2 separate regions of the Homo sapiens genome follow, and region 1 is linked to region 2. Evidence: promoter capture Hi-C in human tissues and cell types (Jung and others, 2019). All regions are on one chromosome and are shown on one strand. The core of a region is centred on a gene start or on the middle of the fragment in contact, and the rest is flanking DNA. Distances in the headings are between cores, read along the strand shown. Region 1 overlaps SLCO2A1 (solute carrier organic anion transporter family member 2A1). Region 2 holds the start of RAB6B (RAB6B, member RAS oncogene family).

The links. Contacts are between HindIII fragments. The study calls those that stand out against the background at their distance.
Region 1: a contact is called between a fragment that was not itself captured here and the fragment with the promoter of RAB6B in region 2, in 1 of the 25 tissues and cell types used here (spleen).

The regions. Positions count from the first base shown.
Region 1 is chr3:133,933,748-133,940,360 of GRCh38, forward strand. It overlaps SLCO2A1 (solute carrier organic anion transporter family member 2A1), which reads right to left. Exons shown (of 14, transcript NM_005630.3): 12 at 4,682-4,746; 13 at 2,027-2,150; 14 at 1-1,083. The coding sequence ends at 966. Among named protein-coding and RNA genes, the nearest start is that of C3orf36, 7.2 kb to the left of the region's middle. The HindIII fragment of the contact is 9,478 bases long and covers 1-6,613 here.
Region 2 is chr3:133,894,632-133,900,733 of GRCh38, forward strand. RAB6B (RAB6B, member RAS oncogene family) reads right to left here and starts at 1,251. Exons shown (of 8, transcript NM_016577.4): 1 at 766-1,251. The coding sequence starts at 835. RefSeq lists a silencer at 1,221-1,270. The HindIII fragment of the contact is 14,643 bases long and covers 1-6,102 here.

The sequences.
Region 1 (6,613 bases), core at 1,488-3,987, 41 kb after region 2:
TCGGAATACGGGCTGAAGTCCAGACAGGGAAGTGCATGTGAAGCCACCTCATCTGCTGCCAGGGAGATGTGGGAGGTTCTTCCCATTACTCTGAGATGAGGGGGTCTCGTCCCCACATTGAAGGGGTGGGAGGTTGGGCATCAGGACCTTTTCATAGGCCTTCCTTGGGTCTTCACTGTGTTGTAGCTTCCTCAGTTTGAAACGTACCCCAGAAAGACAGGGATAACATGTGAGGATCTAAGGACAGAAAGTCCAGGGTTCATATGGACAGCACTTAGATGACCCATCCTTGGGGTTTCTCAGTCCCTGCTCTGGTGCCTGCATGCAGGTAATGGGCAGAGACTGTACTTCCCAACATGGCAGCATCCAGAATGGCCTCTAGGTACAGGAAGTGAGGGTCTGAGGGGGAGGGAGCCAGCCCCTCCCGTAGTCTGTGCTGATGCCAAACCCAGGTGTGAAGGGGGTTACAGCCAGTCTCCCCAGTCTCCCAGTGGCTCTGGCTATTAATAACTCAGCCACTTCCTTCTTCCTTTCACCCCTGCCACTCTGCAGGGTGTGGGCAGTCAGCGGGAGAGTGGAGCTGCCTGGCAAGAAGGGCAGATACCCTTTTTCTCTCTCTGTTTAGGATTCCCCCCAGGGCTGGTGAGGGGCCTGGCTGCCTCAGTGGGCATCCTCAATGGAGGACTCAACACTGAAGTGAGCCTGGGCATCTGGGGGCCTCTTCCAAGGGGCCAGGGAAGACTCAGCCCCCCAGTTCTGGCCCACACAGCCCGGGTACACAGTGGCCCTTAGGAACTGTGGGGAGGACTCTGGGAGGAAGAGGTAGGGAAGGCAAATGAGGACTGGGGTTTTCTTTCTTGTTTAAAAATACAAAAAGGAAATGACGTGTTAACATTAGTGAGTATAGGCAGGTGTGGAAGAGTCAAGGTCCACTCTCTGGAGCAGGGCAGTGGCCCAGGGTGGGGTCAGATGAGGCCTGCCGCCTTCTGCACGTTGTACTCCTTGTTCTTCTTCACCCTCCAGCTGATGAAGCAAAGCAGCAGCATGCCCAGCGCCTTGTAGCCCATCTGCAGGCCCAGGTACCTGTGGGCAGGAGGAGGCAGGACTGGTGAGGGAGGGGGCTCTGCAGCCCACATCCCAGGGCCAGGACCACTGGGAAGAACCACATCATTCCCACGCTGGCCCGCGGAAGGTGTGGGCACCATCCAGGTGAGGATCACTTTCCTCATTTCTTTGACCCAAAAGGGAACAAAGCTGTAGGGAAGCAGGCAGGGAGTAGGCATGGGACTCTTAATCCAGGGCTCATCATCCCTCCACTGGCTCTTTCCAGAGGGCCAGAGGTGACCCAGCTGCCCCAGCCACCCCCAGACGGTCCTGACCTCCAAGCAGAGCCAGAAGGAGAGAGGCATCTTCTCACTGCCCTCTTGGCCTGTCCCTTTTGTGGTCTTCTCTGCCACTCCCATACCATTTCCAGCCCCTGCCCAGTCCCCTCAAGCCCACCTTCCTGTGGTTTCTGGGCCATATGACAACGGCAGCAGGTGAGGTGGCTGGAAGGGGTGCAGAACCCAATAGCACTGCAGCTGGACTTGGCCCATTGAGGCAGGTTGGTCCCCCTGCCCTGGACCTCTGCCAGGAGCCATGATGTGGCCCCCCTCTGTCTCTGAGCAGCAGGAGGCTGCCCCCAATTTTTCCACAGCCATGGCCTCTTCCTTGGGCTCCAGCCATCCCCGCCCCTTCTTTCTGCTGCTGCCCCTTCCAAAGGCTTTCGGGTCAGGGAAGTCCCTGGGTCTGCTGCCCCTTCCAAGGGCTTTCGGGTCATGGAAGTCCCTGGACATCTCCCTGTGAGCCCTGAAATGCCTGTTATAGTAGCCCCTGCTCCCTGTCCATGGCAGGGCCGCAGAGGTGGCCCTTCATGTTCTCTTCCTTGGAAGCCTGACAGCCCCCACAGTAGCCACTGGGCATATGACTACTGTCATCTCAAGCCCAGGGCCTGGCTCTGGGACACACATACATGATGGGCCCTCACCTGTCTCGGAGAGCATCGTTGTCATAGTAGGCGCAGGCCCCTCGCCTCCCCAAGCACAGCGAGTTCCACCGGATGCAGGAGTGGTCAATGGTGAGGCCATAGAGGGCTGGAGATGGCAGCCAGGCTGGAAGAGGGTTCAGAAAGCCCTGGTCAGGTGGAACTGCAGGCAGAGGTGTCCAGCAGGGGTGTGGGAGCCAAGTCCCCGACACAGTTCACATACATGAGAACGGCTCTGCCGTACCCATAGGACTCACAGTGACTCTGGAAAGCAGAATAGCTTTCAGTGAAGCCTGAATTTCTCTTTCACCAGAAGGCTTAGAAGACAAAAGGGACCTGGGCCATTCTTTCAAGTCAGAGTAAGTCACAGGGATCACCTTGATGCCGGCTCAGACATCCAACATAGTTCTCCTGAGATCAGCTCAGAGTGGAGATACACGGGCCTCCACTGTGTGGCAGGAGGCTCTCCAGGCATCGACTTCTCAGGTCCTCACACTGGCCCCGAGGTGTGGGTGCCCACTTTTTAGTGAAGAGGAAGGGGTTCTTGGCTGGGACACTGTAACACAGCCAAGAGAAGTCAAGGCCAGACTTGGAACCCTGGTTTATGGAGGTTCGAATCCCATGTACTTCCACCACACCAAGCTGCCCTATTGGATTAGACAACACCCCTCTGCAGACCTCCCAATACCTGGCTGCTCAAAGCTTCTGCTCTGGGACCCCGAACTTCCCAGCAGCTGAGTGTTAAGATTTGGCTTGGCAGGGGCTATGCCTTCCTGGCTGTCTAATATTCCGGATGCCACACTACCTGTGGGTAGCGTACCACTAGCTACAGCTCTAGGCAGTTACTGGACTGCGGAGGGCTTGTCCAGGATTTACACCAAGGCTGGCCCATCCCATTCTCAGCACCACAGTGCTGACAACAGCCTCCCAGACTTTGTTTAGGGCCCTGTGAGCAGCTGCTTCCAGAAGAAAGACAGACAATGCTCCACTTGTGGCACTGCCCACAAGTGGGAAACTCTAAGAAGAAGCCTCTCTACTCAGATCCTGCTCACTCTCAAGTCTCCAGGTGAACAGGGGGATGAAAACTGGCCAGAGTGATATATGACACTTCCTTATGTAGAAGCAAAGTCCGGAAACATTGTCAACCCAATCCCAATGTGTAATTTAAAACCTGTAATAGGAAGTCCTTTTTTTTACCCAAGAGTGGATTGTGTTCTTGGGTGATAAATGGAACCCCTCCAGGCCTGGGTTTTCTCATTGTGGTCCCACATTGAGTTATCTGAGCTCAAATGGAAAAGCAAAAGCAGCGAGTGCTTCAAGCAGTGCGAGAGAGTCCGAGAGAGTCCTTGTTTTCAAGGTCATTTTCAAGGTTGCTGGAGGAAGCAGGAAAGGGCTCTTTAGAGCCTATCCTAGGTGCTGGATGGGCTGAGAGGAATGTGAGGTCTCTTTCCCAGCAGAAGTGTTAGAGAAAGTTAAGTTATAAATGAAAATAAGGAGCTCTGATGACAGCAGAGCCTCTGCTGGGAGGACAGGTAGATCCTGCCGCCCTGCTTCCTCTGTGTTTATAATGCAGGCAGCAGGAGCAGGGTCTGAAGGGGCTCTGCAGGGACTAGAGGAACAAGAAATCCCACTGAAAAAGCTGGTTCATTCCCATCATCCAAACACTTCTCCCAGCCTGGGACTGGATTGGGCTCAGCAAGGGCTCCCGCTCACCTGGCCCCAGTAGAGACATCACCAATACATCTCAAAATGGGGATGGAAGCCACTGCAGGGCGCGGTGTTGACCTGGCCCCTGGGTAATGAGGCACAGTGGGCTATACATTATTTCAGGATTTATAGTCAGAAACGACACCTTATAGTAACTGAAGTTCCTCTTGCTGGAGTCTCCATATTCCCCTCTGTAGTTTGCACCCTTAATTAACACATCCTCAGTTCAATTAGGTCCCTTTACTACTGTGTGCCTGTCATTACAAGGATCTCTCTATTGCTGCCTTGTGTTAAGTCTAGTGCACAGATATGTCAAGAAGGAACAGCCAGTGTGAGCAGTTCAGGAATGGGCCTGCATTGTGCCCCCAGCCCTCAGCCCAGGCACCCCGGGAGAGCACTCCTGCTGCCTCAAGCAGCTCGCTCTCCCCTGGGGCACTGCTGATCACTTGTGCACAGCTCCATTCCTCTGGTGGGCTCTGGACTGCTTGAGGGCAGGCAGGACTCACCAGCAGAGGACCCCACAGGGAAGAAACTTTTGCTAAATAGTTTTAGGAGGAGTGAATTTTGTAAAATGGAAAGGAAGCCAGGGCTGGGCTCAGCCGCTGCTCTGGCTTGGCAGGAATGCAAAGTTTTGTTCCTACAGTGAGTTTTGTGAGAAGGATTTAAAAATACCTGCCTTTAACACTCTATTAGGTATTCTCAGCTGTGTTCACTTTTCATTTTTCTTACATAACTTAGTTAGGAATGAATGCCATAGATGGAGTCTTTCCTAACCTCAAGCAATCTGGGAAACCGTCCACATGGATTTTGGCATCTGCTGTTGATTATGCACAGCTTCTCTTCGCCATGGAGATGAGATGGTGCTTCCTCCATCGCTACCCTGCACCCATAGCCTTCAGATGCCCCATCGCCTGGGGCCACTTCTTGGGAAGAGGGGTCTTAGACACTTACCCAGCAAGCGCATCAACAAGAACTGCACCCCGATGGCAAATGACTTTTCCTCCTGGTTCACCACACTGAAAAGACAGACAGGAAATCAGCAGTGGGAGGATTCAGGGCTGCACGATCCCTTGGGTAAGGGGCAGCCAGCCTCAGAGCAGGTCAGAACCAGCCCTGATGTGGCCTGACGAGCCCTCTGGTGACCGGGTTCACCTGGGCTGAATGCTCTAGTTCTTTACATCAGTGGCCTCAAAGCGTGGTCCCTGGATCATCAGCATCCCCTGGGAACTTGTTAGATATGCAGATTTTCAGGCCCACCCCAGACTTACTGAGTCGGAAAGTCTGGGGATGGGGCCCAGCAATCTGTATTTTACCTCCAGGAGATTCTGATGCATCACTGAGAACCACCAGTCTGTGTGATTTTCAGGGCTGCCCAGAGCCCCCTTCAAGAAGCAGAGGGCAGTAGAGGCTAGGAGTGGAGAGAAGGATGCTGTGGGTGTGTTGATAGCAGCAGGTCTGAACAACTCCCACAGAATGTCTTATAACAGTAAAAGACAGCCCTGCTGCAAAGTGTAATTAGGGCCCTTGGGCTGCAGGCTTCTGTGCACAGCTAAAAGAATTCCCTACCCCAGGCTAGCTCTGTGGGTGTGTGCATACAACTCCACCCTCAGAAAGGTCCCATGTTTGGCTTAATGCTCTGCTGCAGCTGTCTGGAAATTCTTAATTTCTGAGCCAGGGGCTTTACATTTTCATTTGCAATAGGTCCTGCAAATTAGGTAGCTGGTCCTGCCCCTAACCATCTTCCTTCAAGAGAGGAAAATGTGTTTGGCTGAGGAAGGAGATTCAGAGAGAGCAGGGGACGGCCCTGCCATCCCAGCTGGGGAGTGGAGAGAGGGAGGACACCTCCACACAAGGTGGGGAGCCAGCAGCTGGCCAGCAGAGGCACCTGATGAGTGACTTGACTCCAGGACTCTCTGTGCTCTGAGCACACACACTCCCGGTGGGTGCTTGTCAGGAAGAGCCTTCAGTGCTAGGGGACAGTGAGGAAGGGAGCTCAGAAGTAATCCCCAGGCCTCTACCTGTGGTTTGTTTCACCACCACCATCACAGTTCTGCTAGCAAACTGGAAAGGGACCTTTGCCCAGTCCCCCTGAGGGATGGCCCAGTGAGACAAATACTCATTGGGGCAGGGGAAGAGGCACCCCTTGGGACCCCCACAATGCAAAGTGTCTCAAATCCTGTTGTGTCTACAGATCCCTCCAGTGGTCCAGTTCATAATAGATACCTGCCTTGTCTTGGCCCTTGCCCTGGGCAGACTCCCCTAGATTCTCAATGAAACGGGACTTGGCCACCCCAATTTGGCTTTTGATTGAGATCTTGGGCCCCTTCTAGTCTCTGTCCCATGTGGCCCTGAATGAAAGCTGACCTTCTGACCTCTCTTTCTCCTTCCACGTTTTCAGCTAGCCTTCACTTCCAGCTTGTGTTCCCATGGCTAATTGGGGGCCAGGACTCATATAAATAATGCTTGGGTCACCTACAAAGTCATCTTTTTTTTTTTTTTTTTTTTTCGGAGACAGAGTCTCATTCTGTCACCCAGGCTGGAGTGCAGTGGCTCAGTCTTGGCTCACTGCAACCTCCACTTCCCAGGTTCAACCAATTCTCCTGCCTCAGCCTCCCAAGTAGCTGGGACTACAGGCGCCCATCACCATGCCCGGCTAACTTTTGTAATTTTAGTAGAGACAAGGTTTCGCCATGTTGGCCAGGCTGGTCTTGAACGCCTGACCTCAGGTGGTCCACCCACCTTGGCCTCCCAAAGTGCTGGGATTACAGGTGTGAGCCACCACACCCGGCCTACAAAGTCATCTTTAAGCCTCTCCTTCTTCACACTAAATAGCATCAATTCTGTCATCTTTCCCAGTAGGATTTATCTTTAAATCGTTGTGGG
Region 2 (6,102 bases), core at 1-2,500:
GGTGCCCCTGTATCATTCCCCAAATCGCCTCGAGTTGGGGTAGCCCTCACTGCAATTGCCCAGATCCCTGGGCAGCAAGGAGACTAACAAGCGCCGGCGAAGGGCAGCGGGTCTAGAACCTTCTGTGCCCAGTCGGACGTGAGCCAGGGGAGGTAGGCTCCCCGTTCCCCCATGGCCTGCACTCGCTCTTTCGAGCAGAGACAGGTGTCGCTCTTTTCTCCCCGGTGGCTGTTTGTCCCACGCCCTGGACGTGCCCTTTCGCATGGTTCCCAGCAGGGTCCGCAGGGAACACCCCTCCAGTGCAGCGGAGTGAGGCCCGGCCAGACCCCAGCTTCGCTTCGTTCTCCAAGGGGGGCGCCCGTCGCTCTCCCCACCCCCGCCAGCACCCAGCCACCTGCGCGGTCGCCCGCAGCCGGTGCCGCAGTGTGAGCTAGCCAGCGAGCCCGGTTCCTTCACGCCCTGGCCAGCGCCGCGGAGCCAGCCGCCGCCCTCCGGGCCCCCTGCAGCGCCGCACCTGCACCCACACCCCGGGCCCCCCACCCAGAGCCCACCCTCACCTCCACCCCAGGCTCCAGCGCCTCCTCCGTCCTCACCCTTGGCCCCTCCCCAGCCCGACCCCGCCCCGACCTCCCCATCCCTGTCCCTCTCCTCTACCCTGGCAAGGAGGGGCCTTTCCGAGCCTGGGCCGGGGGTCCCAATGGGGTGGGCGATTGGGCGGCGGGGGTCGACTCGGCGACAAGCCAAGAGATTAAGCCGGGTACTTACCGCTCTGCTCCCCCAAGAACACCAACTTGAATTTTCTCAGTGGATTCCCAAAATCTCCCCCTGCGGACATGGTGCTGGCAGCCGGGGCCGGGAGAGGAGGAGGAGGAAAAAGCGAAGGAGCAGGGAGGGGAGAGTAGGAGGGCGAGGGGAGGCGGCCGGCGGTGCGGGAGCCGGAGGGGGAAGGGCTGGCTGCGCGCGTCCCTGACTCCCCAGCTGCGTCCCGGTCCCGGCCTGCGGCTGCGTGTCCGGCGGCGGAGGAGGAGGAGGAGAGAGAGGCGGAGGCGGAGGAAGGCTGGGGCTGGGCTGCTGCGGTCGGCACTGGCTGCGGTGCGAGGGGCGCGCTCTTTACGCCCGAGGCGCGGCGCTGGGAGAGAGGCGCGGGCGGAGCGGGGCGCAGGGACGGCGCGCGGGGCGGAGGAGCGCTCTCCAGAGCCGCGCCAGTCGGCCCCCTCCCGCCTGCCTCCTCCGCCGGCGCCTGCGCTCTGTGCGCTCCCCAGCCTCTGATGTCATGCGGGGCCCGCGGGGCTGCGGGGCTGGGGGGCGTGCGCCCGCCCACCCGAGCCCGCACCCGGGCAGGAGAGAACCTCCTCGCCGTACCCCTGAGAGCCCCCCGGGGGGGACCGTGTCTCGCTGCCCCGCTGCGTCTGTCTTCCCCACTCTACCCCTCTTTTGAATCCAGAAAATGACAGAAATTGTCAGGGGACATTTGTTTCTGGTCTTTTAAACCTAGATGCCAGTCCCTTCCTCCACCTCGCGAGACACCGATGCACAGCGCAGTCGTCCGACCGACAGGGCGGAAAGGAACGAAGGTGGGGGAGAGCCAGGGTGTGGCGAGGCCCGTCAGGGCGGTCAGACCTAGGGAAACCTGGCGTACTTGGCGCAGATGGGGCTCGACTCTTGCCCCCCGTGGCTTCTAGCCCGCCCTTCCCTCTCGAGGCCTAGACCCTTTATTTGGGCGGCCTCTTGTGGAGTCTGTGGGTGCCCCCGCAGACCTGGCCAGCGAGAGAGGAGCTGCCAATATCAGGCGCGCCTACCTCAAACCAGCTGCTCATTTGGATCATTTTATGCCAAATCCTAACCTGCCCCATGGGAGAGAAGGAACGGTGACGCTCTGAATGCCAGTGCCACTATCTCCAGGACAGTGCCCTGCGTTTCTTGATCCCGGGGTCGCCAGGCTGACAATGCCACTCCCCACCCTGGCAATTAGGTGTATCTGGACAATGAGCTATCTGAGGACATGTGGGCGACCTCTCCTTGGCCTCTACTTGCCTGGTCCATCGAGGCACACAGACCAAGTTGTGAGTGAGTGAGAGCAAAGAGCAGACGCCAAGTGCTAGAAACACTCCCAAGACAGCCCGAGCCTAAGGCATGCTGGTTAATTGAGGTTTTACAAAGCTGTCCCTTACTGTTCTGCCACAGCGTGGTCTTGTTCATTTATGGCTGTTCAGTGAGCATTTATTTGAGATAATAATCTGCATGTCGGTGAACACGATGGTGTGTGCACGCATGTGTTATAGAAAGAGAAAGAGGAGTGAGACACAACCTTCACCTCCAGATTTCTCGTGGACACTTGTTACCCCCTTTTTGACTTATGGGGCTTGCTTGGGCAAGCCTATCTGTCTCCCTGGTGTGCTCACCTCGAATCTCTTTCCTATTTCTTGTTAGAAACCTGACCACAAGTTCCATAAAAGCAGTAGTTGAAGCTCCACCACTGCATCCCAAGGACATAGCTCAGAGTTTAAGAAATAGTTGTTGAATGTTTGAATGAACATCTAGAACTCAAATCAAAATAACTGTCCTATTCTCATAATTACCTTTAGTTTGGAACCCCAGGGATTGTAAGTCATCACCTAGAATATCTGCCCCGTTGTGGCTGGCACCAGGCTCAGGGTAACCCTCCAGACACCCACCCACTTCTCTGGGGCTCCTGCTCTCTTAGGAGACCATATCCAGCTTGGGGTTGAAGAAAGCTCTGAAAGGAGAGGAGACTCCCAAGTCACAGCCCTTCCCGTCTCTATAAGTGATCCCTCCAAAGAAGGGCCAGTGAGCTACTGGCCAAGGTACCCAGCCATGCAACACTCCTCCAACCTGCACCTTCTCCTAACATCTAGTGCTGTCTCCCTGTACCCTCTCATCCTGACCTGATGAGATCATCGGTGGCAAGACAAAACAGCTGAGGTGTGCCAGAAAAGGCACCATCTTTTGGGTAAGCCTAGGCAGGTCCTGTACCTCCTCTGATCATCTGGTCCCGCACATGTAAGGTGGTATGGCAGTAGGGGAGGGAGGGCTGGGGCAGGGCCCCTCTGGGCACCTCTAAGCCTCCAAGTCATCCCATATGCTTACCAGGTCCAGCTGGGCTGACTATGGTCCAGCTTACTTTGGGGGACTCTGTCATAATTCTTCCAGTTCAAATGACAAAAACCCGGCTCCGACTACCGGGCTCACGTCGCTGGAGCAGATACTGGCATTGCTCTCAGAATGCAGTCATCATGCTGTGGAAATGAGAGCCTTAGAGACTCCAAGTTTGCTCTGCTCCAAGTCTCTCTCCTCCAACTATCATTGCTTATCTCCCCTGATTTTGAGTCTTGTCCTTAACCTGCCCTAAAGCAGACAGACTTTCTCCAGGTGGAAAATGGGGCCACTGAACCTCAGCCTGGCAACCTCACTAGAAAGAGTTTCTTCCATATCATAGAATCTGTGCATTCCATTTAAAAAAATTCTTTAAATCTTCCTATTTAGTATGTGCTGTGTATATGTAAGTTACAAAGAAAACCTATCACTCTGAGTGCCCATTTACCCTCTACACAGCTGGAGGGCTCAAATATTATAGTACTTTTCAGGCCCCCAGGTGCTTTCTTCTCCTTCCTCCCTCCCCAACTTGGAAATCCAGAATCTTAGCTTTTCTTTGAGTTTTATCACATTGGATGTGTCCTTCACAATACTTTGTTTTGTTTTGCATCTTTTGAATCTTATATAAGGTATCAAACTGTGTTTTCTGTCCTGACTTGCATGTTTCTTAACATCATGTTTCTGAGATCCATTTGTTAATTCATGTAGCAGCAGTTCTTTCATTTTCACTGCTGGTTAGTATTCTAGTTATGCCCCAATTTTTAAATGATTTTCTGTAAAATGTGTCATTTAAAATTTTTATTTTATTTTATTTTATTATTGTTGTTATTATTTTTGAGATGGAGTCTTGGTCTGTCACCAGGCTGGAGTGTAGCGGCGCCATCTCGGCTCACTGTAACCTCCGCCTCCCAGGTTCAAGCAATTCACCTGCCTCAGCCTCCCGAGTAGCTGGTACTACAGCCACGCACCACCAGGTCTAGCTAATTTTTTTATTTTTAGTAGAGCCGAGGTTTCACCATGTTGACCAGAATGGTCTCAATCTCTTAACCTCGTGATCCGCCTGCATCAGCCTCCCAAAGTGCTGGGATTACAGGTGTGAGCCACCACGCCTGGCCTTTTTTAAAATTATTTTAAATAATTTTATACTCACATAGAGGTTATAAAAAACAGTGCAGGGAGTTACTATGTATCCTGCACCAAGCTACCCCAGTGATAACATCTTACATAACCACATTGCTTAGTAAAACCAGGAAATTAACATTGGAAAATGCACTCAGTTTTGTTTCTGCTATTAACAAACAATGCTGCCATCAACATTCTTTACATGTCTCTTGATGCCTCTGTGAAGTTTTTCTAAGATATGTGTCAGTAGGTAAATTGTGGTATAAAAACAAGTGTACGTTTAATTTTGTGCCAAACTATTTTTCAAAGATATTCGTTAGATCATATAGCACTACAGCATCATCTATATTTTTCATTTTCTTCAAGATCTTGGTTTTCCTGAGCCCTTTGCTGTGTTATATATATATATATATATATTTAAATTAAATTTTTGAGATCATTGTAGATTCACAAACAGGAAAAAAAAAAAAGACAGATCTGTATATCCTTTATCTAGTTTTCACCAAGAGTAAGATCTTGCAGAACTTTATACTACAGTATCATAATGTGGATACTGGAATTAAGACAGTCAAGGTACATTTCTGTTCTGTACCTTGACACACAAAGAGCCCTCATGTTCCCCTTTTATAGCCACACCCACTTTCCTCCCACCCTCAACCCCTTCCTAACCTCTGGCAACCACTAATCTGTTCTTCATTTCAATAAATGTGTTATTTCAAGAATCTTATATAAGTGGCATTACACAGTATATCACCCTTTGGGATTGTTTTTTTCACTTCACCTGGCTGGAGCACTCAAATATTACAGTACTTTTGAGGCCCTCAGGTGTTTCTGCCCCTCCCTCTCTCCCCAGCTTGAAAATCCAGAACTGTGGCTTTTCTTTGAGTTTTTATCACATTTGGATGTGTCCTCCAACAATACTTTTTTGTTTTGCATCTTTTGAATTTTATATAATGTCTCAAACTGTATATTCTGTCCTATGACTTGCATTTTTCTTAACATTATGTTCCTGAGATCCATCTGTTGATTCATGTAGCAGCAGTTCTTTCATTTTCCCTGCTGGTTACTATTCCACTGCATGTCCTATTTTTTTTTTCACATAATTCTATGGAGATTCACCCAGGTTATTGTTTGTAGCAATAGTTAGCTCCCTTTTACTGCTGAGTAGCATTCAATAGTATGGACGTACAGTTTGTTTAACCACTCACCTGTGGAAAGGCATCTGAAATTATTTCCAGTTTGGGGCCATTACAAATAAAGCTGTTATGAACTATCATGTAGAGATTTTTGTGTGAAAGGAAGTTTTTATTTCTCCAGGATAAATGCCCAGGAGTGCACTTGCTGGGTCATATGCATGTTTGTTTTTTAAAGGAACTGCCAGACTTTTCCAGAGTGGTTCTACCACTTTCCACTCCCCACCAGCAATGGATGAGCGATCCAGCCTCTTCTCACCCTCATCAGCATTTGCTGTTGTCAATATTTTAAGCCATTATGAGAGGAATGTAGTAATATCTCATTGTGGGTGGTTTTAATCTACATTTCCAATGACTAATGATGTTCAACATATTTTCATGTGATTAATTGCCATCTGTATATCCTCTTAATGAAATGTCTGTTCATGTCTTTTGTCCATTTTTAAATTAGATTCTTTTCTTTACTGTTAAGTTTTGAGAGTTCTTTATGTATTCTAGATACTAGTTCTTTGTCAGATATGTGATTTACAAATATTTTTTCCCACTCTGCTGGAGTGCAGTGGCACAATCATGGCCCACTGCAACCTCAAACTCCTGGGCTCAAGTGATCCTTCTGCCTCAGCCTCTTAAGTAGCTATGACCACAGAGGTGCGCCAGCACACCCAGCTAATTT